Regions from separate parts of the Homo sapiens genome. Here all the other regions are linked to region 1. Evidence: promoter capture Hi-C in 16 types of primary human blood cells and fetal thymus (Javierre and others, 2016). All regions are on one chromosome and are shown on one strand. Each heading gives the region's core, a stretch centred on a gene start or on the middle of the fragment in contact. The rest is flanking DNA. Distances are from core to core; before and after follow the strand shown.

Region 1 (2,500 bases), core at 1-2,500:
GGAGGCACAGGGAGGCGGCCGCAGCCGAGAGACGCCACACAGAAGCAGATGCGCAGCTCCTGGGAAACTCCAGCCTGGAGCACGGCCACGCAGCCACCTGGGGAACGGGGCGGCACCTTCTGACGCTGACCCCAAGCGTCCTGGAAATGTGAGAGGTTCGCCGAAAGGAATGTTCCCAGATATTCACAGCCGCACCGTGTGTGGTAGCTGCAAACTGGAAACGACCCACATCGCCACCCACGGGAAACGGCACAGCCGCGTGGCACGTTCACACAGGACAGCCTCACCCGCCCGGGCAGTCGCCCGCGGCCCTCATGGCAGCTGTCTCCAGAGCACGGCGTGGGCCCGAGGACACAGATGCAGAAAGGGATGCAGGGTGCGATTCCACTTGTGAAAGCTCAAGTCAGGCCGGCCCTGCGTGGCGGGACGCCTTGTCCTGTGGTCTCGTGGCAGCTACTTTCTGGAAAAGCATCGTATGGCACCAGGCATGCACTTTCTGCACGCCCAGCTCTCACTGCCACCCCTCACGGCGCACACCCCAGTCTCCTAGTATCGTGCCCTGAACTCTCAGGAGCTTCTCGGTCCAAGCCTCCTCCTTAGAGAGGTCTCCGGCCCCTCCAGCCACGCCTCTCCCTACTTCTTTCTCAGGACGTGCTGCCATCGGAGCTGAGCTCACCTGCCTGTTTGATCGGATGTTTATTGTTGGATCCCTCGCCCTGTCCTCTTGTCCCCTCTGGCTCGGAACCTGCCTGGGAATGGGCACCGTGAACCCCAAGGTCAGGACGGCCTGGAGGGTGCAGCTGAGCGGAGCCAGGCGTGGGGGCTCTGACGCTGACGCTCCCTGGCGTCACTCACCCTCACATGAGCCCCAGAGGTCAGGACCGGGAGGCACAAGCCCTGGCCGGGACACAGAGGCCATCTCAGAAGCAGGCCAGGAACATTCCAGGGGCGGCAGGGAGGGCAGGTCTGAGGTTTCACCGCGGGTGGCGGAGGCACGGGAACTGAGCGGTGCTGCCTGCTGGTCAGCGTCCTCCGGCCCGTGTCTGACCCCACCTCAGCCCGGCCCCGTGCCAGGAAGTCGTCCTCATGTACTGTAGCTGGAGGGCCCTCAAATGCCATCTATTTGTGGCCTGGACCCTGATGGCTGGCACGAGTCTCATGTGGCCACAGGGACGTGGTATTTTTGGCACAGGGGGAGGAGCCTGTGCAGCCACAGCCTAGCACCATGCCGACCCAGGACGGGCAGCTCAGACGCCCAGCTCGGCCGCCGGGACCCAGGTAGGACATGGTCAGCTGCTGGCTCCTGACCCAAGGGGCCCCAATGGTAACAACCCCCACAGAGGCTTCTCAAGAGACCAGAGAGGAGGGCGAAGGTCAGTGGGTGGGAAGCCACCATGCCCTGGCCTCCGTCTCAGGACCGTCCCCACCAAAGTGACTTCCCACCCCTGGGTCCAGAGGGGCTGACCTGAGGCCGAGGGCGGCCCCCTCTAGGGGTAGACCCGACAGCTGGCTAGGGTCTCCTTGCTTCTCTGAGACGGGGCAAAGGAAGGCACCCCGGGCAGCCGGGCAGGCCTGGATCGTGGTGCAGACCTCGAGGACGGCCCGAGGTGGCTGCTGGGTCAAGAGACCCACCGCAGCCTGCACCTCCTGCCCAGGCTCTCCGTGCTGACTTGGGCCAGCTCTGGCCAGCACCACCTGGTGAGCTCAGAGAATAGCCTGGCCCAGCCAAGGCGATCGGAAGGTCATCGCCGAGGGCTGGGCACCTGCTGGGCCCTGTAAACCTTTCCTGTGGCCGGCTGCCAGCTGGGGCGCACTGGGATGGACCAGGGCTGCCCACCCCCGAGGGCACTGGTCCCATCGGGTGGACCCTGAAAGGTGCTTTGCCGTGCAAAGACAGCTCTGGCAGAAGGTGGAGGAGGTGAGGCTGCCCCAGCTGAGGTGTGATGGGAAAGAGCATTCAAACCTGAGGACGGCTGGTTTTATAGCTTCACTGGTAGAAAATCATCCTTGATTCTAGGAATGTAACACCGCATCATCACACAGCTATCATTTGGGGTGCGTTGGGAACTAGGGTCATGGGAGCTGGGGATCTTCTAACTTGGAAATCGTCACCACTAGGTTTGAAGGAAGCGCGGCCCTCCCCTCGAGATGCTGTTCTCTTCCTTTCAGGGCATGGATGGAGCCCCGAGGCGGTGGGAGCTCCCAGGTCTCGTGGGGCAGGGGCGGCATGTGCAGGGTGGTGCCCGGGGCCTGAACCCATGAAGACCCCACCGGACCCATTCTGCTACCCTCCAGTGCCTCTGCTGACTCCACATGGAAAATTTCCAGTACAGCGTCCAGCTGAGTGACCAGGACTGGGCCGAGTTCTCAGCCACCGCCGATGAGTGTGGCCTCCTGCAGGCCGGCCTGGCCTCTGGGGACGAGCTCTTGTCCAGTGACATTGACCAAGGGGACAGCAGTGGCAGCAGTCCCCCCAGGGCCCCACCTCTCCCAACTGGGC
Region 2 (2,700 bases), core at 78-2,577, 150 kb before region 1:
AATAAATTTGGTTTCCCTGCAAGAGCTCTCTGCCAGGAAATGTAAATCATGGCTTCTCAGTCTCTCTCCCCCTCTGAGGGCCCCCTGGCTGGGTCATTCACAGGCCCCGAGGAACTCTGGGGCCTTCGCAGCCATCTTTTCCTACAGGAACCCCCAGACACCCATAATCATCACGGGGACCCAAGACCCCAGCTTCTCCCGGGGGGCACATGGTCACCCTGTGGCCCCCTCCAGGCATCTCCGCTCAGGCTGTGGGACCCCAGGCCCGGCCCACCTGGCCAGCACAGCCCTGCAGGCCCCAGCTGACCCTCACCACCCCCCAGCCAATAGCAGAAGCCGCCAGCCCTGGGGAAGGCCCTCCGGCTGAATCCCTCCTCTTCTGAGGCCTTGCCCTCCCCGCGGGCTCCGCCTGCCACAACTGTGCCCTGGGCTCACCAGCGGGACCCCCAGGTCCTCCCCAGCACACCATGGAGGCCCCTAAGGGCTGGGCCTTGGCCAGGCGACTGGGGAGGGGCTGGTCCCGGAAGAAAAGCTTTGTGGGGCCGTGGGTGCGGGGGCTTTCGGCTCATCAGAAGCCACCAGCCCTTGAGACAAAACCTCCCAGACGCTGTGGGTCAGACCCACAGAGCCTCAGTCCTACCTGGTCCTGGGAGGGCGGAGGGCGGTGTGGGCCTGGTCCCAGGACGGCGGAGGGCAGTGTGGGCCAGGCGCGGACTCCCCCGGGCGCCCTCATGGTCTTATCTCTGCCCGGCCGGCGGAAGGCGGCGGGAACCTTTGCCTGGTACAACCACTACTGCTCCACAGCCCAGGAATTTGGCATTGAATAATTTTTAACTTCTGCTCTGAGAGAGGAGCTGGCCTTGGATTTAGTGTCCGTGCATGCAGGAATGCCGGGGCTCCATTTTCAAGTAAGTGCCTCGCGGAAAGCCGGCCTCGGAAAAGCAGAGAGAAAAGAGCAAGAAAAGTCAGAGGGGCAGGTCTGGCTGGCATCCAGCGGTGGCCAAGCCCGCAGCCCAGGTCTGACCTCACAGATGGACAGCTCCCCATGTGGGAGAAGCCGCGGGCATCTGGGGGGGGCACCAACTCCCTGGGGTCTAAAGCAGGGTTTGCGCTTCCTGGCAGGGGGGAAAGGCTGCACCTCACACCTCTCTGGGTGCAGAGCGGCTCCGGGACGGCTCCCCTCTCCTGCGCGCCCGCCCCACCTGTAACCCCAGGCCTGGTCCCGCATGATATGTTTGAATGCCAGAACCCGACGCAGCCCGCGCCACGCCCGAAACCTGCACCCCCGTCTTGCAGTCGCTGCCCTTGGCAGTCAGCACGAGCACCAGACCTGGGGGTCCTTCTGTGCTTGTCCGAGGCTCAGGCCTGTGACCCTGGCTGCTGGCTGCCCCCACTCCCACAGCACGGGCCACCAAAGCCCCAGTCCTGGGCCACAGTGGGGCGGTGGCGATGACACCCAGGGCCCTGCGGCTGAACGTGGCCAGGGCTTCACAGAGACCCGGGGCCGCCTTGTCTCCAGCCACGGTGGAGGAGGCAGCGGCCCTGTGGCTCTGCCCATGGAGTTGGGAAACATAAGGCCCAAAAGCAGACTCGTCCTTTAACTGAGTTTCGCTGGGGCCGGCTTGGGGACCCACCTCTCACGAGAGCACTGGCCTGCCGGCATGCCAGAGCCCCTGACACCACACAGGAGCCGGGTGGGGCTGGGCGTAGCCCGTGGTATCGGCCCCCCAGACCTGGCCACCTAGGCCCAGGGCAGCACCCGGGGAGGACGGGGGTCTGGGTGGCCGGTGGCTTCCCGTGGCCGCTGCTCAGCCCCACTCTGTCCAGCCCCCTGGGAGTGGCTGTGGAGGGCATCCTGTGTGCTGGAGGGGCAAGATGGGGAGGGCTCTTGTCCAGAGACCCAGGGGTGCCGTTTCAGAAAACAGAGCATCATGTGCTGGGACCAGACACAGCTCATCTTTTCCAGGGGACGGCGAGAAGGACACGCTCGGTTCCGCACTCTCAGGCTCCTGCTCCTCACAAGGCAAGCGCCTCCAGGGAGCTGCATTTGGGAAAATATCCACCAAGCACTAAAGAAACACAACCATAAAGAACCATAAAGCATCCACGCGGAAAAGCTTATTCAGATCAATAAAGCTGCGGCGGGCCGGGCACAGTGGCTCACACCTGTCATCCCAGCACTTTGGGAGGCCGATGTGGGTGGATCACGAGATCAGGAGATGGAGACCAGCCTGGCCAACATGGTGAAACCCCGTCTCTACTAAAATACAACAAATTAGCTGGGCGTGGTGGCACGTGCCTGTAGTCCCAGCTACTCAGGAGGCTGAGGCAGAAGAATTGCTTGAACCCAGGAGGCGTAGCTTGCAGTGAGCAGAGATTGCACCACTGCACTCCAGCCTGGGTGACAGAGCGAGACTCCGTCTCAAAAAACAAATAAATACATAAAATAAAAGTAATAATAATAAAAAAACTGCAGCGAGGGCCCAGCGTGCCCACCACTCATCAACAAGTCAAAGCGCGAACCCTGTGGGTGCAGCAGCCGGACCTCGGGTGTGCTGGCTTTCCGACACCCAAACCAGCAAACCTCACACCCGCTGCTCGCGGAGGGCCGCTGAAGCCGCAGCGAGGTGAGCGAGACTCCCCACTGGGGACAGAGAAAGACCCCTCCTCCCCCAAGTCACAGAAAGACCCCGTCTCCCC
Region 3 (2,700 bases), core at 173-2,672, 240 kb before region 1:
CCTGTAATCCTAGCACGTTGGGAGGCTGAGGTGGGTGGATCATTTGAGGTCAGGAGTTTGAGACTAGCCTGCCCAACATGGTGAAACCGTATTTCTGTTAAAAATACAAAAATTAGCCAGGCGTGGTGGTGCACCCCTGTAATCCCAGCTACTCGGGAGGCTGAGGCAGTAGAATCGCTTGAACCCGGGAGGCGGAGGTTGCAGTGAGCAAAGATTGCGCCACCACACTCCAGCCTGGGTGACAGAGTGAGACTCCATCTCAAAAAATAAAATAAAACGTGAAGAGTGTGACTTTTGGAAGCTGTGGTTGGAGAGTGGGGTCTGGTGGTGATTCTGTGTGACAGAGGGGGAGGGTCCATGTGTTTCCCCGGGGAGGGGACCGTGGCATCCACCTTCCCCAGTGTCTCTGGCGTGGCCCGGCACCCCACAAGCCCCACGTCCCGGACGCTTTTCGCGTTGCCTGGTGGAGCCTGTCGCTGTTGGTGGCAGGTTCACGCAGCCATGGAGTCCTGGGCCGGCGGCATCCGTCTGGCTGTTCGGGGTCCTGGGGGCCCAGTCTGACGGCCACCTGCCCATTTGCTGTCTTGCAGGGTGGATGTGAACACTGACCGGAAGATCAGTGCCAAGGAGATGCAGCGCTGGATCATGGAGAAGACGGCCGAGCACTTCCAGGAGGCCATGGAGGAGAGCAAGACACACTTCCGCGCCGTGGACCCTGACGGGGACGGTACTGTGGCTGGGCCGGGGTGGGTGGGGCGGTGGGCGGGGCGGGCAGGGCCATGGGCCTTGCCTGGTGCCTGGAGGGCAGACAGGCCCTGTCTGAGGGACGGGCGGTGGGGAAGTGTCAGCCGGAGACCCCGAGGTGTGGTGGGGTGCACGGAAGCTGGGTTCATGATGCCAGAATCCTGGTGACAGAGGTGTGTGTGCCAAGCACTGGGCGTGGCCCATGGAGGGCGCCTCTTATGTCTTCGGGGCCTTCATCTGGTGGTGTCTATGCCTCTTGGTGGCCCCGAGGCACAGACGTTGCCGGCTGGCCTCACAGGTGAGGAAACGGGTGTGGGGTGCTGGCCGGGGCCCTGGGGCTCCAGACGCTGGCATCCTGCCGCTTCCAGCCTGGGCAGCAGAGCAAGACCCCATCTCAGTTGAGAAGGAAGTTCAGCTCAGTATCAGAGGCCCTGACAGGTGTGATCTGCTCTTCCAGGTCACGTGTCTTGGGACGAGTATAAGGTGAAGTTTTTGGCGAGTAAAGGCCATAGCGAGAAGGAGGTTGCCGACGCCATCAGGCTCAACGAGGAACTCAAAGTGGATGAGGAAAGTGAGTGCTCAGCCAGGCTCCCGCCACCGGTCTCAGGCATCCTGTGTGTGCGCGCGTGTGTTGTGTGTACATGAGTGTGCCGTGTGTGTCGTGTATGAGTGTGCCGTGCGTGTGCTCGTGAGTACGTGTGTGCGTGCCGTGTGTACGAGTGTGCTGTGCGCGTGCTCGTGAGTACGTGTGTGCATGTTGTGTGTACGTGTGCTGTGTGTGTGCTCGTGAGTACATGTGTATGCGTGTCGTGTGTACGAGTGCACTGTGCATGTGCTTGTACGTGTGTGCGTGTCGTGTGTACGAGTGCGCTGTGCGTGTGCTTGTGAGTACATCCAGGTAGCTGTTCATGTAGGCTCGTGAGTACATGCAGGTGAGTGCGCCCTCACACCCGCTGTGTGCACACGTGTTCGTCTTAACAGCATGGCCCAACCTGGTTGGTGGTGGCTGTCAGGAGGGAAGTGGGTGAAGCCGTTGCTGACCTAGGCGCCGCCCAGGAGTCCGGTGGGGAGCGTGTGAGCTGTGCCTGGGCAGCTTTCAGCTCTGCTGGTCACGGCACCTTCACGGCCGTTACTCAGTTAGGTCCTGCAGAGAATCTGAGGCTGTGAGTCTGGGTTGGGGCCTGCCCCGTACTCTGAAGGCCACGTGAGGCAGAGTTTCCTGGGGAGAGGGCACAGCCTGTGCCTGAGGGCCTGGCCCTGAGGCCTGGGTCTGCTGGAGACATCTGTGTGGCCGTCAGGTGGTCACCAGAGAGCGGTCAGGTCCCAGGGAGAGGCTCTTCCTTGGGTCTGGGGTGTGGCCGTTGGCCAGCAGGGCAGCCTCAGCCCTGGGCGGGTCCAAGCTGGTGCCTCTGCGTGAAGAGGGTGGGGCCGGGTGGGGCCCGGCACCCGGGCTAAGGCCAGGTGAGGGGAGAGCCGGGCCACCCTGCACGGGGCCAGGTCTGGGAGAGCCGTCCAGGCAGAAGCCCCTGCTGGCCCAGTTGTGAGGCACAGCTGAGCGGGTACCGTGGCGTTGCTGCCACCCTGGGGCTCCGTGTGCCCTTCCCGGTCATGCCCGTGGTCTGGTTTGGGGCTTTGAGGAGAACGTGCAGAGTCGCCTGCTCCGTCGCTGCCCGGCATCCTGGGGTGGGTTCTCTGCTGCCCTGCAGGGCGCCCGTGTCGCCCACGGGACTGGTCACGTGATACGGGGCTGCTCCTGGCAGGCTGGGTGTATCTTACACCTTTATTTTTTGTGCCTGCTTAACTTATCAGTAACACACATTTCCTCACCAGAGTCTCAAGGCAAACCACCTCTTCTTTCTTTTTTCATGAGACGGTCTCACTCTGCTACCCAGCCTGCAGTGCAGTGGTGCAGTCTCGGCTCCCTGCAGCTGTACCTTCCAGGGCTCAGGCGATCCT
Region 4 (2,700 bases), core at 74-2,573, 220 kb before region 1:
GGTCTCGAACCCCTGACCTCAGGTGATCCGAGGCCCACCTCGGCCTCCCAAAATGCTGGGATTACGGGCGTGAGCCACTGATGGCGCCTCTTTCTATCCAGGGGCCCAGACCCCCTCCCAGCCTCGGGGCTGAAGATCTCCAGGCCTCTCAAAGGCCCCCAGGCCCAGCTGGCCCCACCCCTTTCCTTCCGAGCGTCGGGGCGGCCTGGAGCTGCAGAGACCCCTTCCTTCTCTGCAGTGTCTGAGGGCTGCCTCTCCAAGGCAGGCTCCTACATCTTGGATTTGAGAACTCCGGGGTGTCACAAACAGCTAATTCCTGTCATTTACCTTGGAAAAGGAGGAACCGCCTTACGGGGTGAGGCGGTGGCTGCAGGTCTCAAAAGGGTGTTGAACCACATCCACGCTCACGTTCCCGAGAGCCCCCACCCCCAGCATTCATGGGGGTCTCCACCTGTGCTGGACGGCGCAGAAGCAGGGCTGGGCAATCCAGGGAGGCTTCCTGGTGGAGGCAGGGTCCCAGAACCCCTCGGTGCCCACAGGGGAAACTGAGGCTCAGAAAGACATAGGACAGTCTCCCAAGAGCTCTGCGAGGGGCTCCTCCTCAACTCCCTCCGGGACCTGGATCTGTCTGGTGTGACGGATGAAGGTGGCTCTGAGAGACCGGGCCCTGGGTGCCCGCGGGGGCGGCTGACACTGTCCCGAGGAGGCGCCAGCACCCTCTCGTCTCCCCACCAGCTCCTCCTGGTGCCCCTCCCAAGCCCCGGGGAACTTCCCAGGTTGGCCTGAGGGGGGTCCTGGAGAGCTGCAAGCAAGGGGGAGGGGAGCCCACAGGCCTGCAGCCCATGGTGAGTTTCACACCTGAAGCCAGCCAGGTGGGGTGTGCTGAGCCGAGGGGTCCCTGTCCCCATTCTGTGGGGTTCCCCAGCACGGGGCTCCATGGTTGAGGCTCTCTGGGGGTGGCCAGAATTTGTGGAGACCTCTCGGGGACTCGCAGATACCACCCGGAGGCAGTGGGATGGAGGAGTGATTGGCTGACCCCCGCCCTCCAAGGGGCCCCCATGGGACAAGGTGCTATAAACGCCGCCCCCTGCACTGGGGACACCAATGTGGCCGCAGACTTTGCATAGAAAACCTTTCTGATCCCCGCCAGCCTGGTTTCCCCGCCCCTGCCGGCGACCTGCGGGGGACCGGGCTGTGTCCGCAGTGTCTACACCCCCTCCTCACACGCACTTCACCTGGGTCGGGATTCTCAGGTCATGAACGGTCCCAGCCACCTCCGGGCAGGGCGGGTGAGGACGGGGACGGGGCGTGTCCAACTGGCTGTGGGCTCTTGAAACCCGAGCATGGCACAGCACGGGGCGATGGGCGCGTTTCGGGCCCTGTGCGGCCTGGCGCTGCTGTGCGCGCTCAGCCTGGGTCAGCGCCCCACCGGGGGTCCCGGGTGCGGCCCTGGGCGCCTCCTGCTTGGGACGGGAACGGACGCGCGCTGCTGCCGGGTTCACACGACGCGCTGCTGCCGCGATTACCCGGGTAAGTAAACCGCGTTTACTTAACGCGGACCGGCCAAGGCGTCCCGCGGAAGCCGGGATGGGTGGGCGCCCCCCTTCCCGTGCTCAGACCGGCGTTGCTGAGGTCTAAGGAGGGTGGGCACAGAGCCGCCAGCAGCGGGAGCCTTCCGGAGGGAGGCAGGATCCCAGAGGGAGGCGGAGGTGTGCCAGCTCCAGCCAGTGGCCCCGGCCGGGAGCAGGGGTGAGCCAGGTGGGAGCGCCCTCAAGAGGGGTCTGGGGTCTGGAGGTGGAGGACGGCTGTTCCAGGTCCTGCTGGGCGGGTCGTGAGCCCTTGGCCATCGCCCAGCCCCCTCCTGCCCAGTTGAGGGCCCCCCTGCACCACCGTCTGGCCTGCTGCCTGCCTCTGACCTGCACCTGGGGATGAGGGTTCAGCTGACACGGCTGGTCTGGAGAGGAAGCTGGCAGGGAAGTCACCCCAGAGCTTCTTCCTCCAGGGCCTGTGGGTTGGGAAGGGAGGCTCTGTCCGGAGGCCCAGTGTGGCTGGTGGTGGGGACAGCAGCGCCCAGACACCAGGCAGGCGGCCTCTGAGGTGTCGACGGGCCTCCAGGGGACTGTGCACTGTTGGGGGCCACCCCTGGGTCCTGCAGGGGCAGCTCCTGGTTGCATATGGAGTTAGCACCTGGGCAGGGGCAGCTGTGGGGCGCAAAGGGGGAGTAGCCAGGCCACATGGCCCCAGGAGAAAGAGACAGCTGGATAAACCCAGGGTCCAGACTCCCAGCCAGGAGCCCTCTGCTCCCTGGAGCCAACTGTGGGTGGAGAACGGACAACCTCACTCCCCTGGAGGGCCGAGGGGAGGCCTGGGGAGGAGGGGGCCTCAGCCCAGCTGCTGGGGGGCTGGCCTGTCTCCTGCCCAGGCGAGGAGTGCTGTTCCGAGTGGGACTGCATGTGTGTCCAGCCTGAATTCCACTGCGGAGACCCTTGCTGCACGACCTGCCGGCACCACCCTTGTCCCCCAGGCCAGGGGGTACAGTCCCAGGGTAAGTCCTGGAGGTGCCTCTGGGAGTCCACACAGGCCAGGGGTTCCACTAGGGCCCGAGGCAGAGCTCGTGGGCACAGGTGTCCGGCGAGGACATGTGGTGTGTGGGGTCCGGAGTCCTGTGAGGCCGGGCAGGCCAGGCCATGCTCAGGCACC
Region 5 (2,700 bases), core at 115-2,614, 190 kb before region 1:
CGTAAGCCTGAGGCCTCCTTTGGGCTTTTCTAACTTTATGTCCTTATGATGTTCACAAATAACTAAATAAGTTGTGAGCTGTTATTTCTTGTCATTGAAATTAAAGGTGTTTTTTTTTTTAATTTTTTTAGACGAAGTCTCACTCTGTCGCCCAGGCTGGAGTGCAATGGCGCAATCGCGGCTCACTGTAACCTCCGCCTCCCAGGTTCAAACAATTCTCCCGCCTCAGCCTCCTGAGTAGCTGGGATTACAGGCGCCTGCTGCCATGCCCGGCTAATTTTTGTATTTTTAGTAGAGACAGGGTTTCTCCATGTTGACCAGGCTGGTCTCAAACTCCTGACCTCGTGATCCGCCCACCTCGGCCTCCCAAAGTGCTGGGATTACAGGCGTGAGCCACCGCCCCGGACTGAAATCAAAGGTTTCTTAAGCAGCTGCCCGCTGTGTGTGTGGTGAACCCGGGGCCTGAATGCAGGTGGGACGCAGCCTCCCAAGCGCCGGGAGCCGCTGGCTCCTCACGCCTGTCGATCTAGCAAATGTGCTTTGGAGTCTCTGACGGACGCGATTCTGAATCCAGAAGGAAAGCGTCTCACTCCGAGATGCTGACTGACGTGTCCTTTATAGCGGTGGGACTTGGGAAGCCGGTGACGCCCGGTGTGGAGGACGGTTGTGACGCCCCTCGGTGGGGACACGGTGTAAAGGCGGCGTGGAAACTTGGTGCACGACCTTACAATAAATTGTAAAATAAGCGTTTTACCTGGTGAGATGAAAAGACCGGCAGGAGACGGCACCCCGGTAGGATGAACAGAAGAGACTTTTAAACCTGAAGAAATCATCCAAAAAGCGACCACATGTTAGTGTCCTGCTGCGAGTTCTCCCCCCAGAATCCAAGCTTGGCCACGTGGGGCCCTAGGAAGGTACTGACATTGTTCGAAGAGCTGGTGCCTCCCGGCCGGAGGCCGCTGTCAAAGGACGCACGACCTGTGGGCTCAAGCAGCCGTCCGTCCAGGACTTGCTCTGCGGAGGCAGACCTGGTCCCAGGCCACGGAGCTCGTCCCAGGGCTGCCCAGCCCTCCCACCCCACCGGGTACACACACCGTTCCCCGGCCTGGCCTGGACCCGAGCCTCTCGCACGGTGGCGCTGGGGTCCGGGACCCGCAGAGCAGGCTCAGCCTGGCCCCACCCTACCCGATCCCTGTCCAGTCCCCTCCCCAGCCTCCTCCTCTCCTGAGCAGCCTCCCGAGGGGACCCGCAGGCAGGGCGTAGGAGGGCGGGGCCGAGCCCACTGGACCCCAGCTGGTGGCCGCCGGCGCTTCTTACCTGCCCAGCCCACAAGGTCCTGGGAGCCTGGGCCAGGAAACAACAGTGGTGACCTGGCAACCGTCTCCTGGCAACCCCCACCCAGCCGGAACCCAGAGGTGAGCTTGGGTTTTCGGAGGATGGGGAGGGGCTGCTGAGTGGCGGGGCCAGCCCGGGAAGCCGGGCTGAGGGCTGAGGCTGGAGAAGGGCACAGCTTCATGGGCACAGCTGCCTCCCAGTCACTGCTGGGACTGCCTGAGCCTGAGCCCCAGTTGCTGCCCCTCCGCCCGGCCCTCCCAGGATGGTCCCTGAGCCGTCTCTCAGGCCCCACCCATGCTCAGCACCCCAGGACCTGGCCCGGGCCAGGCTCTGCGTGCACCCTGGTGATGTTGGCTGGATACACGGCTGCCGATCCCTGAGCATTCTCTGTGCTTCACGTGGTCGGGTCCCTGTTCTCACTCCACAGCGGACGAGGTGCCACTGTGCCCCCCTCTGCAAACAGGAACCGGGGGCTCCACAAAGTGAGTGCCCCCCAGAGGGGGACTCACATCTATCGGTCCAAACTGCACCTTTCTGTAAGCCCCTCGCTGTGTCACAGACCTCGGCCAAAGTGAAGCATTCCGCAGGGGTTTGGGCCGTGAGGAACAGCCTGCCCGACACCTGACTTGAACACTCTGCGGGGAAAAACACCGAGGAACATCACGATTACCTTCTGCGGGAACAAGGGCCAAACAAACGGCCTCATCCTGAAGCCGTGTGGCCCGGGCCGCTCCCACCCATACCTATAGGCACCCCAGCCCGTAGGCGGCAGTGGGCTCTGGCATCCAGCTGGTCCCCCACCTCTGCAGGTGTTTGCAATGTACCCGTGTTGATGTAAGGCTGCCCTTTCTCCATCTCTGTGTGTCTTTGTTTAACCCTCACATTCTCTCTTTTTTTTTTTTCAAAATACGGAGTCTCACTCTTTTGCCCAGGCTGGAGTGCAATGGTACGGTCTCGGCTCACTGCAACCTCCGCCTCCCAGGATCAAGCAATTCTCCTGCCTCAGCCTCCCGAGTAGCTGGGATTACAGGTGCCCACCACAGTGCCCAGCTAATTTTTGTATTTTTAATATTAATTTTATTTTTTATTTTTATTTTGTTTTATATTTTATATATTTATTATTTTATATATTATTTTCTATATTATTATAATTATTTTATTATTAATTTATTATTAATTTTAGAGGGTTTCATCATGTTGGCCAGGCTGCTCTTGAACTCCTGACCTCAGGTGATCCGCCCGCCTCGGCCTCCCAAAGTGCTGGGATTACAGGCGTGAGTCACTGCGCCTGGCCTGCCCTCGCCTTCTCTTTAAAACACCTAATGATACGAGGTCTGGGAGTCCTGGGCTCCTGGCATGACCCAT

The links. Contacts are between HindIII fragments. The CHiCAGO score rates a contact against its expected background, and 5 or more counts as called.
Region 2: a fragment that was not itself captured here is called in contact with the fragment with the promoter of PERM1 in region 1 in 2 of 17 cell types (endothelial precursors and erythroblasts); the score reaches 6.4 in endothelial precursors.
Region 3: a fragment that was not itself captured here is called in contact with the fragment with the promoter of PERM1 in region 1 in 2 of 17 cell types (endothelial precursors and erythroblasts); the score reaches 8.3 in endothelial precursors.
Region 4: the fragment with the promoter of TNFRSF18 here is called in contact with the fragment with the promoter of PERM1 in region 1 in 16 of 17 cell types (erythroblasts, activated CD4 T cells, naive CD8 T cells and 13 more); the score reaches 33.1 in erythroblasts.
Region 5: the fragment with the promoter of TTLL10 here is called in contact with the fragment with the promoter of PERM1 in region 1 in 3 of 17 cell types (M1 macrophages, endothelial precursors and erythroblasts); the score reaches 6.3 in M1 macrophages.

The regions. Positions count from the first base shown.
Region 1 is chr1:980,843-983,342 of GRCh38, reverse strand. It overlaps PERM1 (PPARGC1 and ESRR induced regulator, muscle 1), which reads left to right and starts at 1,250. Exons shown (of 4, transcript NM_001394713.1): 1 at 1,250-1,278; 2 at 2,170-2,500. The coding sequence starts at 2,314. The HindIII fragment of the contact is 23,754 bases long and covers 1-2,500 here.
Region 2 is chr1:1,126,699-1,129,398 of GRCh38, reverse strand. LOC124903819 (a long non-coding RNA gene) reads left to right here and starts at 415. Exons shown (of 2, transcript XR_007065349.1): 1 at 415-908; 2 at 1,967-2,700. LOC124903820 (a long non-coding RNA gene) reads right to left here and starts at 715. Exons shown (of 3, transcript XR_007065351.1): 1 at 641-715. The HindIII fragment of the contact is 1,585 bases long and covers 535-2,119 here.
Region 3 is chr1:1,221,859-1,224,558 of GRCh38, reverse strand. SDF4 (stromal cell derived factor 4) reads left to right here. Exons shown (of 7, transcript NM_016176.6): 3 at 591-727; 4 at 1,202-1,315. Among named protein-coding and RNA genes, the nearest start is that of SDF4, 8.8 kb to the left of the region's middle. The HindIII fragment of the contact is 4,562 bases long and covers 1-2,700 here.
Region 4 is chr1:1,205,215-1,207,914 of GRCh38, reverse strand. It overlaps TNFRSF18 (TNF receptor superfamily member 18), which reads left to right and starts at 1,323. Exons shown (of 5, transcript NM_004195.3): 1 at 1,323-1,530; 2 at 2,423-2,545. The coding sequence starts at 1,344. RefSeq lists a silencer at 2,540-2,700. The HindIII fragment of the contact is 24,444 bases long and covers 1-2,700 here.
Region 5 is chr1:1,172,544-1,175,243 of GRCh38, reverse strand. TTLL10 (tubulin tyrosine ligase like 10) reads right to left here and starts at 1,364. Exons shown (of 16, transcript NM_001130045.2): 1 at 1,318-1,364; 2 at 923-959; 3 at 755-820. It overlaps TTLL10-AS1 (TTLL10 antisense RNA 1), which reads left to right. Exons shown (of 2, transcript NR_173246.1): 2 at 1-2,188. RefSeq lists a silencer at 1,125-1,214. The HindIII fragment of the contact is 2,617 bases long and covers 892-2,700 here.